Regions from separate parts of the Homo sapiens genome. Here regions 1 and 2 are each linked to region 3. Evidence: promoter capture Hi-C in human tissues and cell types (Jung and others, 2019). All regions are on one chromosome and are shown on one strand. The core of a region is centred on a gene start or on the middle of the fragment in contact, and the rest is flanking DNA. Distances in the headings are between cores, read along the strand shown. Region 1 overlaps KCNJ8-AS1 (KCNJ8 antisense RNA 1). Region 2 overlaps KCNJ8 (potassium inwardly rectifying channel subfamily J member 8). Region 3 holds the start of CMAS (cytidine monophosphate N-acetylneuraminic acid synthetase).

Region 1 (3,499 bases), core at 906-3,405, 260 kb before region 3:
AAAATCTCATGTAGTGCTCATTAAGGTATGGTCAATGTAGTGGGCTCTCATACTAACATTCCGTATTGGAATGTGCTTTTCAAGTTATAAAGTTATTTTCCCATCATTTTATTTGAGATTAATAAAAACTCAGTGAGGCCAACAGGGTAGTTATTGTCATGTCTTTTGGTTTTCCTTTTGCAAATGAGGAAATGGGGACCCAGCCTTTAAATGATAAATCCAAGGCCATATATTCAATTGATAGAATCAAGACTAGAAGTCAGGTCTCCTGGTCCATTTCTCTTTTCAATAGTATTCTACATAGATTCACATAATTATTCTTTATTATATGTCACATACTGTATTAGTCAGGGTTCTTTAGAGAACAGAGCTATTAGGATAGATGTATATATAAAGGGGAGTTTGTTAAGGACTATTAACTCACACAATCACAAGGTGAGGTTCCACAATAGGCCATGTGCAAGCTGAGGAGCAAGGAGCCAGTCCAAGTCCCAAAGCTGGAGAAACTGGAGTCCAGTGTTCGAGGGCAGGAAGCATCCAGCACGGGAGAAAGATGTAGGCTGGGAGGCTAATCCAGTCCAGTCTTTTCACATTTCTCTGCCTGCTTTATATTCTGGCTGTGCTAACAACTGATTAGATGGTGCCCACCCAGGTTAAGGGTGGGTCTACCTTTCCCAACCCACTGACTCAGATGTTAATTTCCTTTGGCAACACCCTCAGACATACCCAGGAATAATACTTTGCATCCTTCAATCCAGTCAAGTTGACACTCAGTATTAACACATACAGTATAAATCATTTATTCCCAAAACAAATAATTGACTTCACTAAATTAATCTTTATTCTAGTATAGCACACGACTAAGAGTGTGGCCTTGAAGTTGGATTGCTTGAGTTTGCCTCTGAGTTCTGCTAAACCTTGCTCAAGTTAGCCTTTATGAATCTCAATTATTAAATGGAAATAATAATATCTACCTCAGGGAAATTTTTTCAAGATCAAAAGAGATTATACTTGTAAGGCTTATATCATATCTGCTCAATGTATGTTAGCTATTATTACCCTTACAGCAAATTTTTAATTAGATGGTATATGCAATAAACATTCTACTGATATCTCAATTGATTTCATGTTGCTCTTCTCTTCTTTTCCCCAGTGATTTTTCCTCTTTCATATTGTTTGATACAAAATGATACCAGCATCACAGAGACTATAATGATATTTAAATCATAAATCAGTATGTCATCTCTATGCTTTATTGGCATATGTAGCTAAGCTTTATTAAAATATTATTTAAGCCAAGAATTTCCCATGAAATATTAGGCTTTCTATTTTTTTCCCCTACATTTTTGGCCAAAGGCCTGGATGCCTTGTGTTTCCAATATAATGTTTTTGTTACATTGAATATATGCTGGAAGTTCAGTCAAGTGGGAATAAAGAAGAGACGCTCCTATTTTCTAGTGAAAACTTGTCACCCCAAATCACTGCCTTTTGCCGTCTTCTCCTTCCTGTTTGCCAAGGACATAGGAATTGTGCTGCCTGGGCCAAGTGCTTGGCACATATAAGTGTCCACAAGTGATAGGTCACTGGGAAAAATGGCTGCTTCTGTCCAAAATGTGCTTGTAATGATCATATGTGTTAGGGATAGTGCAATTCTGTAGTGGTGGTGGTAGGGTGTTACTGCTTGTTTTGAGTGGGAAGTTGTGAGAAAATGTCTCGTAAGCTATGTGTTATGCAGTAATTCCCATAGAGAAATGAAACTTGGGCTTAAAAAGTCAATATTTGGAGTCTTATGGCAAGAGATTTTGTTTTGTTTTCATGTTTTAAAAGAAAAGTACAGCCTTCTTTAGACTTTCCCTTTCTCTGGAACAAAGATAGGTTGAGAGAACATGAGACGAAAGGCCAAGGGTTTTAGACAACAGCTCATTTTAGTGCTTATGTGATAGAGGAAAGGTTTTTCCTCTCTCAATCTCTTTTTTTTTTCCCTCAAAGGAAAATAATCAGTAGCCAGCCCAGTCTCATTAGTCTTTTTTTGGAACTACTGGTTGTGATTTGTGTTTGCCTTCTTGCTTTCACATCACTCTCTAGACTGTGCTAGTTTCTCCTCATTACTCCCAACCGGCATATACTACCTGACAACAGCTTCTTAGGTCAGAGGTAGACTCCTGACCCAAAGTGATGTGTAATGCACAGTTGTCTTTGTCATGTATAAGATTAAAAGATGAGCTGCACAAGGTAGATTCTTTGCTTGATACTTTGAAATAGACAATCTGAGAAATGGAGATAGTTGTGGACTGAGAAGCCAGAAGATTTAGTCTTAGGGATAGGAATGGTTCATAAAGGTGAGAAAGAAGTAGGCAGGGATAAGAATGGGGCAGAAGAAAAACGAGAAACTAGAGACAGGGAGTTGGAATTGAGGGAGTGGACTGTCCCTAGACAGGTCCCAGTCCTCACTTTCCCTGAGATCTCATAATTCTGCTTTTCCTAGATTCCAGTGCAGATATAACATTTCAATACCAACCTCCTCTCCACACCTACCCCATGCTGTTTAAAAGGATAGTTTCTAGAGTCAGATGGTCAGAATTTAAATCAGTGATTTGGGGATAAATCATTTAAATCCTAGCCTCAGTTTCTCATCTGTAAAGCAAGTATAATAAAGATACTTATTTCTTAAGATTTTATATTATTTTAAATATACTACATAGCTATGCACTACACCAACAAATAATATCCCTGAATTATATTTTGTTACTCAAAGATGAACACAGCAGATATTCAACAAATTATCAATCAAGATGAAATAACCAAAGTTTATTTTCACACAGCATCCCCTAGTAGGGAGACAACCACTTTTCATAGATGCCCAGTTCAACAGCTTTCATGACAATCATTATCATCCTTTCATTGAACTAAAAAGAGCCTCTTCACTGTAACCCAGCAAGATGTTGCCAGTGCTATCTTAAAGGGTAGTTTAAAAAGAAAGGTTGGCCGAGTGCGGTGGCTCACGCCTGTAATCCCAGCACTTTGGGAGGGATTACACCCAAGGCGGGTGGATTACCTGAGGTCAGGAGTTTGAGACCAACCTGGCCAACATGGCGAAACCCCATCTCTACTAAAAATACAAAAATTAGCTGGGTATGGTGGCACATGCCTGTAGTCCCAGCTACTTGGGAGGCTGAGGCAGGAGAATTATTTGAACCTGGGAGGCTGAGGTTGCAGTGAGCTGAGATCGTGCCATTGCACTCCAGCCTGGGCGACAGAGCAAGACTCTGTCTCAAAATACATAAATAAAATAAAGAAGAAGGGCTGAATCTCATATCACTGGAAACACATTTTATGATCTATTTAGAAGTGAAATTTCTTTCTAAGGTGATTTAGGTCTGAAAGATACACTTACAGATTACTGTAAGAATATTTCTCTTTATGCCATCTATTTTAACTACCTGCATTTATCTATGCATTAGTGATATAAAGTTTCATACCAACTATAGCCTTATTTAAG
Region 2 (3,388 bases), core at 889-3,388, 280 kb before region 3:
CGCACCTGTAATCCCAGCTACTCAGGAGGCTGAGGCACGAGAATCTGTTGAACCTGGGAAGCAGAGGTTGCAGTGAGCTGAGATCGTGCCACTGCACTCCAGCCTGGGCGACAGAGTGAGACTCTGTCTGCAAAAAAGAAAAAAAAAAAAGAAAATGAAAAAGGCAGAAGAGGGCTTTAAGAAGAGGTGTCATGTAGTTTGACTTGTGATTTAAAAAAATATTGTGGCTGCTGTATGAATTATGGAGGTGGAAGAAAGGGTAGAAGCAGAGAACCAAAATACTGAATATAAAATAATATTTAAACACAATATGTAAGTCAAAATCATACATGTACACATATATATGTACAGAGTCCGTCTTATCTTCTAAAACTATGTAGTTCTCAAAATTGCTTACCCAGTGAAATATGTTTTAGCAAAAATAGGTCAGAAAATCATTTTAATACTCTCTAAAACATTTTCAGACTTTTAGAAATTGTTGATAGAACCTTTTGTTTGGTGTGGCTGTCTCTAGCTAAATGATGTCCCTGTCTGAGCCACAGCTTGACATAGGGAGCCCCTCATAACCTTTCGTTGACATGCCCATTATATTGACAGTCATTAGGTCCTTGACACTCAGCGTTTAGTTGCAGCTGGAAGGTGGCTGGGGGAACTTCCCGTACTCCATAGCTAGCTTTGCCCCTGGTGCCAGGGAATTCTCTAGACCCTGGACTCAGAAATTTTGCATCTCAGCTCCACTATGTCCTGACATCACCTGTTGCACAGCCTGTGTCACCTCTACAAAGTTGGGCTACTACTGAGCAGCAGGAAGGCACTATCCATGTTCTTACTGCTGGATTGTGTGGCAGCTACCTCTGGGTCTGCTCAGCTGCCCTGGGGTGGGAAGGTGGGAACCTGCATCTGTTCCAGAACTGCTTTGAGGTCTGATATCCACCTCCATAGTTGCTGTTGGGTTAAGTTTTATTAAGATAGTCTTTAGCAACCTAGACAGAAATGTTTTAATATTCAAACAATTGGTACAGATGCATGCATATATACAGTATCCTTGCTTGGACTATGAAGGAAGTGGTGGAGTAAAGAGAATTGGTCATATTCTGGATATATTTTGAAGGCAGAGCCGAGAGGTAATTGCTAATGGATGGCATGTAGGGTATGAAAGAGGCAGCAAGAATGACTTCCAGGTCATGGCTTGATGCCTGAGTGATTGGAAGAAAGACTGGGAGGAGGGCAGCTTTTGTGAGTGAGAATGAAGTATTTGGTTTTAGACCTAGTAAGTTTGAAATGCTTGTTCAATCTCCAAGTGGAGCCTCAGGTGCCTGTTTGATCTGTGAGTCTGGAGTTCAGAGGAACAGTTAGAACCCTTTCAGGAATGATTAACTCAATGACGTGATAAACAGTTTCTGTTCACCTGGTTGGAATCATGAGTCTTAAGATAGAACATTTCATAATTACCTATTTCAATGTTCATAAATACAAACCCCCAAATCTGTGTGAAAGATTTCACAATAGCTCAGCTTTCTGATGTTTAGCTATAAAATGTAAGAATAAAAGCATATATAGTTTATTAACCTAGTACTTCTCTCTCCTGTCTCATCCCTTCCTTGAAGAAGCAGGCACTAAATATGCTTAAATGAAGCTTTGATAGAAAATCTCACTTTAGCAAATGAGATGATGCTAAATCTATAAATGCCAAGCCTAAATTCAGATACTACTGGGAAGGAAGTATAGTTTTAAGATGGGAGATTGAAGATTAAAAAAAAAAGCTTATAGGATTTTTATGGTATGTCAGGCTTAGATTGAAAAACCAAGAGGACATTTTAAAACCTGAAATAAAATCAAAACAAAGCAAAAAAAAGCTAGTTTTGGAGCAAACAGACTTGAGAGAGAGGAATCTCAGAGTGAGTGTTATCACTTTGACATCTCTTTTACATGGCTCTAAAAACATCTTGAGTTTTAACTTGGGATGATTTTGTGAAAGAGGAATCACAAAACTACAGTGAGTACAAAGAAAATGTTTTAATAAAATATTCAATACAGTATTTCCCTGTGGGGATTCTAGAAGAAGAAGTGAGATGCTGAAGGAAGTGACTGTCACTGTGGGGAACCCAGTCCTAAATGAGACAAGACTTAGCTTTCCTTCAAAGACACCTTGTCCAGCTCTGCCCAACAGGCCGCAATGAGATGGACCAGGAAACCTTCAGGAGTCACCGACAGACAAAGCGAATGAACTGAATCCACTTACAAACAGATCCACTTAAGCAGTTTTTGCCTCAGGCTTCCTACCAAATGCAGTTATCATGGAGACAGGAGAAGGCTGATGTACAAAACGCATTAACATGATTTTGTTTTTTCCCCTCCTATTCTATTTGCATTTCCAGAGTGATCATTAGTAACACAGCGATCTGGGTTTCACCAACTAAGCATTTCAAACAGACTCATTTCTTGACCAAATTTTGTGCTCAAGGCCTGTTACTATTAGTGTAATTCTTGTGTTTCAAATTGAGAGAAACGAGCATACCCACCCCTGCACATAACTTAAGTATATCACTGCGAATTCTACATGTATGAAACAAGCATAAGCCATGAATCCTCCACTTGGTGTGTTACTTTTTATTACTACAGAAAGTGCTGTTGCTTGAATATGAATATCATTTAGTGTAATAAAATGTAGAAGGACACATTATTGTGTTCCAGCTCTGGTTCAGTCTGGCAGTGCCCAGCATAAACCGTCAAAACTTGATAAAAGACTGTCTTGGGGTTATCTTGCTGTCATGATTCCGATGTGTTTTGATTTCCTTCTGGAGTCATAAATTGCACCTTTGGTACCATGAGGGAAGAATTGTTCCTTCGGATAGAATTGTTCCTCCTCATGGAATTGTTTCTTCTCATGGAGTTGCGCTTCCTCAGAGAATTTTGATGAGACAGTTCACTCTTTTGGAGGGTCTGAATAAGGATGGAAGGTTTCTCATCCAGCTCTCGGGCACTGCACCGTGGAGCAGCTACTTTAACAGTGTTGCCAAATTTGGAGTAATCCACAGAATACACTCCTTCTTCCTCAGTCACAATGGACACAAAGCGGTGGCCCCATTGGATCTCCTCAGCAATGTAGGAGGTTCGTGCTTGTGTGGTGATGCCAGTAGTTTCAACCACTCCTTCCAGAATAACTATGACCTCCAAGTCTTGGTTGGCCAGGTCAGTTGCTGAGATGTCATACAGGGGACTGCGCTTGTCAATCACGTGGCAGATGATCAAAGGGGCCACCAGAAAAATGTTATTGCTCTCGATTGGGTTATCAACAGGAATGTCCAGTTGGTGAATAGGAACCACCTCCCCTTCAGGTGTAGTTGTTTTCTTGACCACCTGGATGCGCACAGAGGCACTAATGATC
Region 3 (3,447 bases), core at 682-3,181:
TAGGATTTATGGGCCTGTAGGGAATTACTGTGGAGAAGGGCAACTAAATCATTAATAGGAATCAAGATTGTTATTGGGGTGTAGTAGGGGTCCTCACATGACTACCAAAAGCTCAGTGCTGGTGTCTCTGAGGCACAGCAACTGCAAAGGCCCTACTCAAAGAGCCAGTGTATGGGGGCAAGTTGTCCCCTTGCCCTTCAGTGCTGGAATGGCTCATAGAGCCTGCCCCTTTCCCAAGCATGGCATTGATGTCTGCTCACAGCCTCCCTTATCTGTGTCTGCACGAAGCACCTTCTTCCAGCACCAGTCCCAGGAAGGGCTGGGCCCTCAGTTAATTCACAGACTAAGAGATGTAAAGTATCCAGTACCTCTCATAGGACCCAAAACATCAAAGACTTCTTCTCTCCCCTCAAAAATGGCCAAGACCTGAGAAGTACAAAATCCTTTTGCCCTCTGGGAGAAGGCAAGCCGACACACTACAATCCATTCTTTCTGTTTGTATCAGCCTCCATCTCAGAAATGTAAAAGACTCTACTTCCAAATATAGGCTTGCAAACATGCTGAAAGACAAAATGCATGCTAGGTCAGAGATGCCTGCTTTAAAGTCTCTTTTTTTTTTTTTCCTAAGAGAGGTGTGTGTGGGTGTATGTCTTTGAGCCTCTTGGCTGGATCAGGGTTTAAATGCTCAGGCGTGGCGGCTCATGCCTATAATCCCAGCACTTTGAGAGGCTGAGGCGGGCAGATCACTTGAGGTCAGGAGTTCAAGACCAGCCTGGCCAACCTGGTGAAACCCCCAACTCAACTAAAAATACAAAAATTATCTGGGTGTGGTGGTGCCCCTCTGTAATCCCAGCTACTCAGGACGCTTGAGAATGGGTGGCAGAGGGTTGCAGCGAGCCGAGATTGTGCCACTGCACTCCAGCCTTCTGGGGGACACAGTGAGAATCTGTCTCAAAAAAAAAAAAGAGTTTAAATGATGCCTCCAGAATTCTTTCTCTTTAATCCCTACATGTCATTGTTCTGCTTCCTCAGGGAGAACATCAGTCTTCCAGCCCATTTCAGAACAGCAAAGCCCCCCTGCCGCCCTACCCTACCCTTGCCCTGAGGCTTCAGGTTAACAAGGTCCTTAGCACCCAGTCAGCACGAGAAAGATCCTTTCTTTCCAAGACTCTCTGGAAAGGACTCCAGTGGGCTCTGCTTGGTCATATGCCTGTCCCTAGACCACAGGTGTGTTAAGGAAAATGGGGTGCGTAGATGGACCAGCTTGGGTCACACACAGTGCAGAGAATGTGAGGGAAACCCTCACCGGATGAGAGAGGGATCAATTCCTAAAAGGAAAAGATTTTTAGCAGACAACAAAACAAAACCAAAAAACCAAGTGTCGGCCACACTAGAGGTGACCAGTAAAGCTGACTTCCAAATTTCTGCTGCTAGGGAATGCTGATGTCGATCAAAGTGCGGAGAGCATATGAAAAATGGAGTTTTTAAAACGTTGAGTTTAAGGCGCCTGTAGGATATTTGAATGAGCTGGTCAGTAATTTCTTGGAAAAAATGACCCAGGGGCATTAAAAAAAGGTGTATGTTTAAAATGTACATTTTAAAATATAAAATGGATTCGTGTCAGGGTGCATCAAGGTATGCAACGGGAAACCCACCACAATTCTAAAGTGGGGAAGTTCTTCAGCAATTATAAATACTTTTTTTCTTTTTTAATTTTAGAAATTTACAGACACTTGCAAGCACCCCAAAAGCCGCACTTCCTCCAAATATCTCTGGACTCCCACTGCTTGACTTAGTTTTGGGGTCACCTCATCAGAGCCTACTTGGCCTACTGGCCCCAGACGAGGCGGCCGCGGACTACAATTCCCAGCGAGCACCGCGAGGGGCGGGGGAGGGGGCGGGGCGAGGGACGGCCGCGCGCGCCAGCTGCCAGGCGGGGATCGGGCGGCGCCGAGCTGAGGTGGTGAGGGACTAGCTCCCGGATGTGGAGAAGCTGGGGAGAAGGCGTGGGAGGAAGATGGACTCGGTGGAGAAGGGGGCCGCCACCTCCGTCTCCAACCCGCGGGGGCGACCGTCCCGGGGCCGGCCGCCGAAGCTGCAGCGCAACTCTCGCGGCGGCCAGGGCCGAGGTGTGGAGAAGCCCCCGCACCTGGCAGCCCTAATTCTGGCCCGGGGAGGCAGCAAAGGCATCCCCCTGAAGAACATTAAGCACCTGGCGGGGGTCCCGCTCATTGGCTGGGTCCTGCGTGCGGCCCTGGATTCAGGGGCCTTCCAGAGGTGCGCATGTGCGAGAGTGGGCGGCGCGGCCTGGGCGGGGGTCGGGAGAGGGAGTCGGGCTGCTGGAGGGGCTGGGGCCTCCGGGGCCACCGCTCTTGGAAGGGGGCCATCTCTCATGCCAGGGATGTGCAAGATCCGGGGTGCCTGGGGCCGGGCTGAGAGCCCAGGAGGAAGGGCTCCAGCTCCTTCCTTGTTCCGTAGCTGCCAATGGTCATAACCTGGGACAGTTCCTGTCTCCGCCCTTGAGAATCATCCGTAAAAGGGGAGATTACACCTCCCCAACCGTCCCCTCCTCCCGGGTTGACCTTACGGGGAAAAGTAAAGGAGGCCACCCCGGTGCAACATCTGTGATAATATGTGAACTTCTTTGGATGGGGGCCATCGAAGCTCCCCTGTTGCTCAGCCTCTGATAACTGCTTGGTGCTGCTCGATTAGGGAGGCATCAGGTTCATGAATGGAGTTGAGTGTCGGGGTGTCAGAGCTGAATTTCAAGCTCAGCTTGGAGATCTTTTCCTAACCTTTGAAAAATACTCCAGCTATCTTCCTGTGAGTCAGCACAATCTAGAAAACTCCCTACATTTATAAATACGTGAGACTCAGTGGGAAGGTGTACAACTGACTGTTTTATGATATATTAATACTTACAAATCATTTAATCATACCTTTGGAACCTCGCCTGCCCTATGGACAGTTTTAATTATGCGTAATTTAGATACATTGCCAAATTGGTCAGGAGTTACAAGCTGATGTTATTCATAAAAGAAGGGAGATCGAATTCTGTGCCAAGAATGAATTTACACATATAGCTTCAACCTAACTACATTTGAATGTGTTGTTATTGTGGAAATTAATTTATGTTAACCTTTTGATGTTTCGATTTTTAAAGAGATGACTGTTTTTGAAGTCATCTCTTTTTCTTTTTGAACCTATATTTGCTTACCCATATTAATATATGGGTAAATGATTTTCATTTAACCAGTCTTGTTCAAAAACGGGAGATGCCAAAAAAGTATAAATATACTAATTTTCTTAATGTTTCAACCCAAAAGAAGTCCTGGATGGACCAAGGCAAATAGGAGCCACCACTCAGAAGATAACACTAGTGCAATAGGAAGTGTGCGAAGGAGAGATAGGGAAGGACCTGGGGATTTTGTTCAATTCAGTAGCTAT

Evidence for each region. Contacts are between HindIII fragments. The study calls those that stand out against the background at their distance.
Region 1: a contact is called between a fragment that was not itself captured here and the fragment with the promoter of CMAS in region 3, in 2 of the 25 tissues and cell types used here (mesendoderm cells and thymus).
Region 2: a fragment that was not itself captured here is called in contact with the fragment with the promoter of CMAS in region 3 in 4 of the 25 tissues and cell types used here (IMR-90 fibroblasts, lymphoblastoid cells, mesendoderm cells and 1 more).

What each region holds. Positions count from the first base shown.
Region 1 is chr12:21,784,727-21,788,225 of GRCh38, forward strand. The region is part of intron 2 of KCNJ8-AS1 (KCNJ8 antisense RNA 1); the gene reads left to right. Among named protein-coding and RNA genes, the nearest start is that of KCNJ8, 12 kb to the left of the region's middle. The HindIII fragment of the contact is 4,164 bases long and covers 74-3,499 here.
Region 2 is chr12:21,762,954-21,766,341 of GRCh38, forward strand. KCNJ8 (potassium inwardly rectifying channel subfamily J member 8) reads right to left here. Exons shown (of 3, transcript NM_004982.4): 3 at 2,002-3,388. The coding sequence ends at 2,770. All of the region lies in intron 2 of KCNJ8-AS1 (KCNJ8 antisense RNA 1), which reads left to right. Among named protein-coding and RNA genes, the nearest start is that of KCNJ8, 10 kb to the right of the region's middle. The HindIII fragment of the contact is 5,103 bases long and covers 1-3,388 here.
Region 3 is chr12:22,044,287-22,047,733 of GRCh38, forward strand. CMAS (cytidine monophosphate N-acetylneuraminic acid synthetase) reads left to right here and starts at 1,932. Exons shown (of 8, transcript NM_018686.6): 1 at 1,932-2,277. The coding sequence starts at 2,018. RefSeq lists enhancers at 1,749-2,043, 2,359-3,064 and silencers at 1,816-2,185, 1,829-2,056. The HindIII fragment of the contact is 20,290 bases long and covers 1-3,447 here.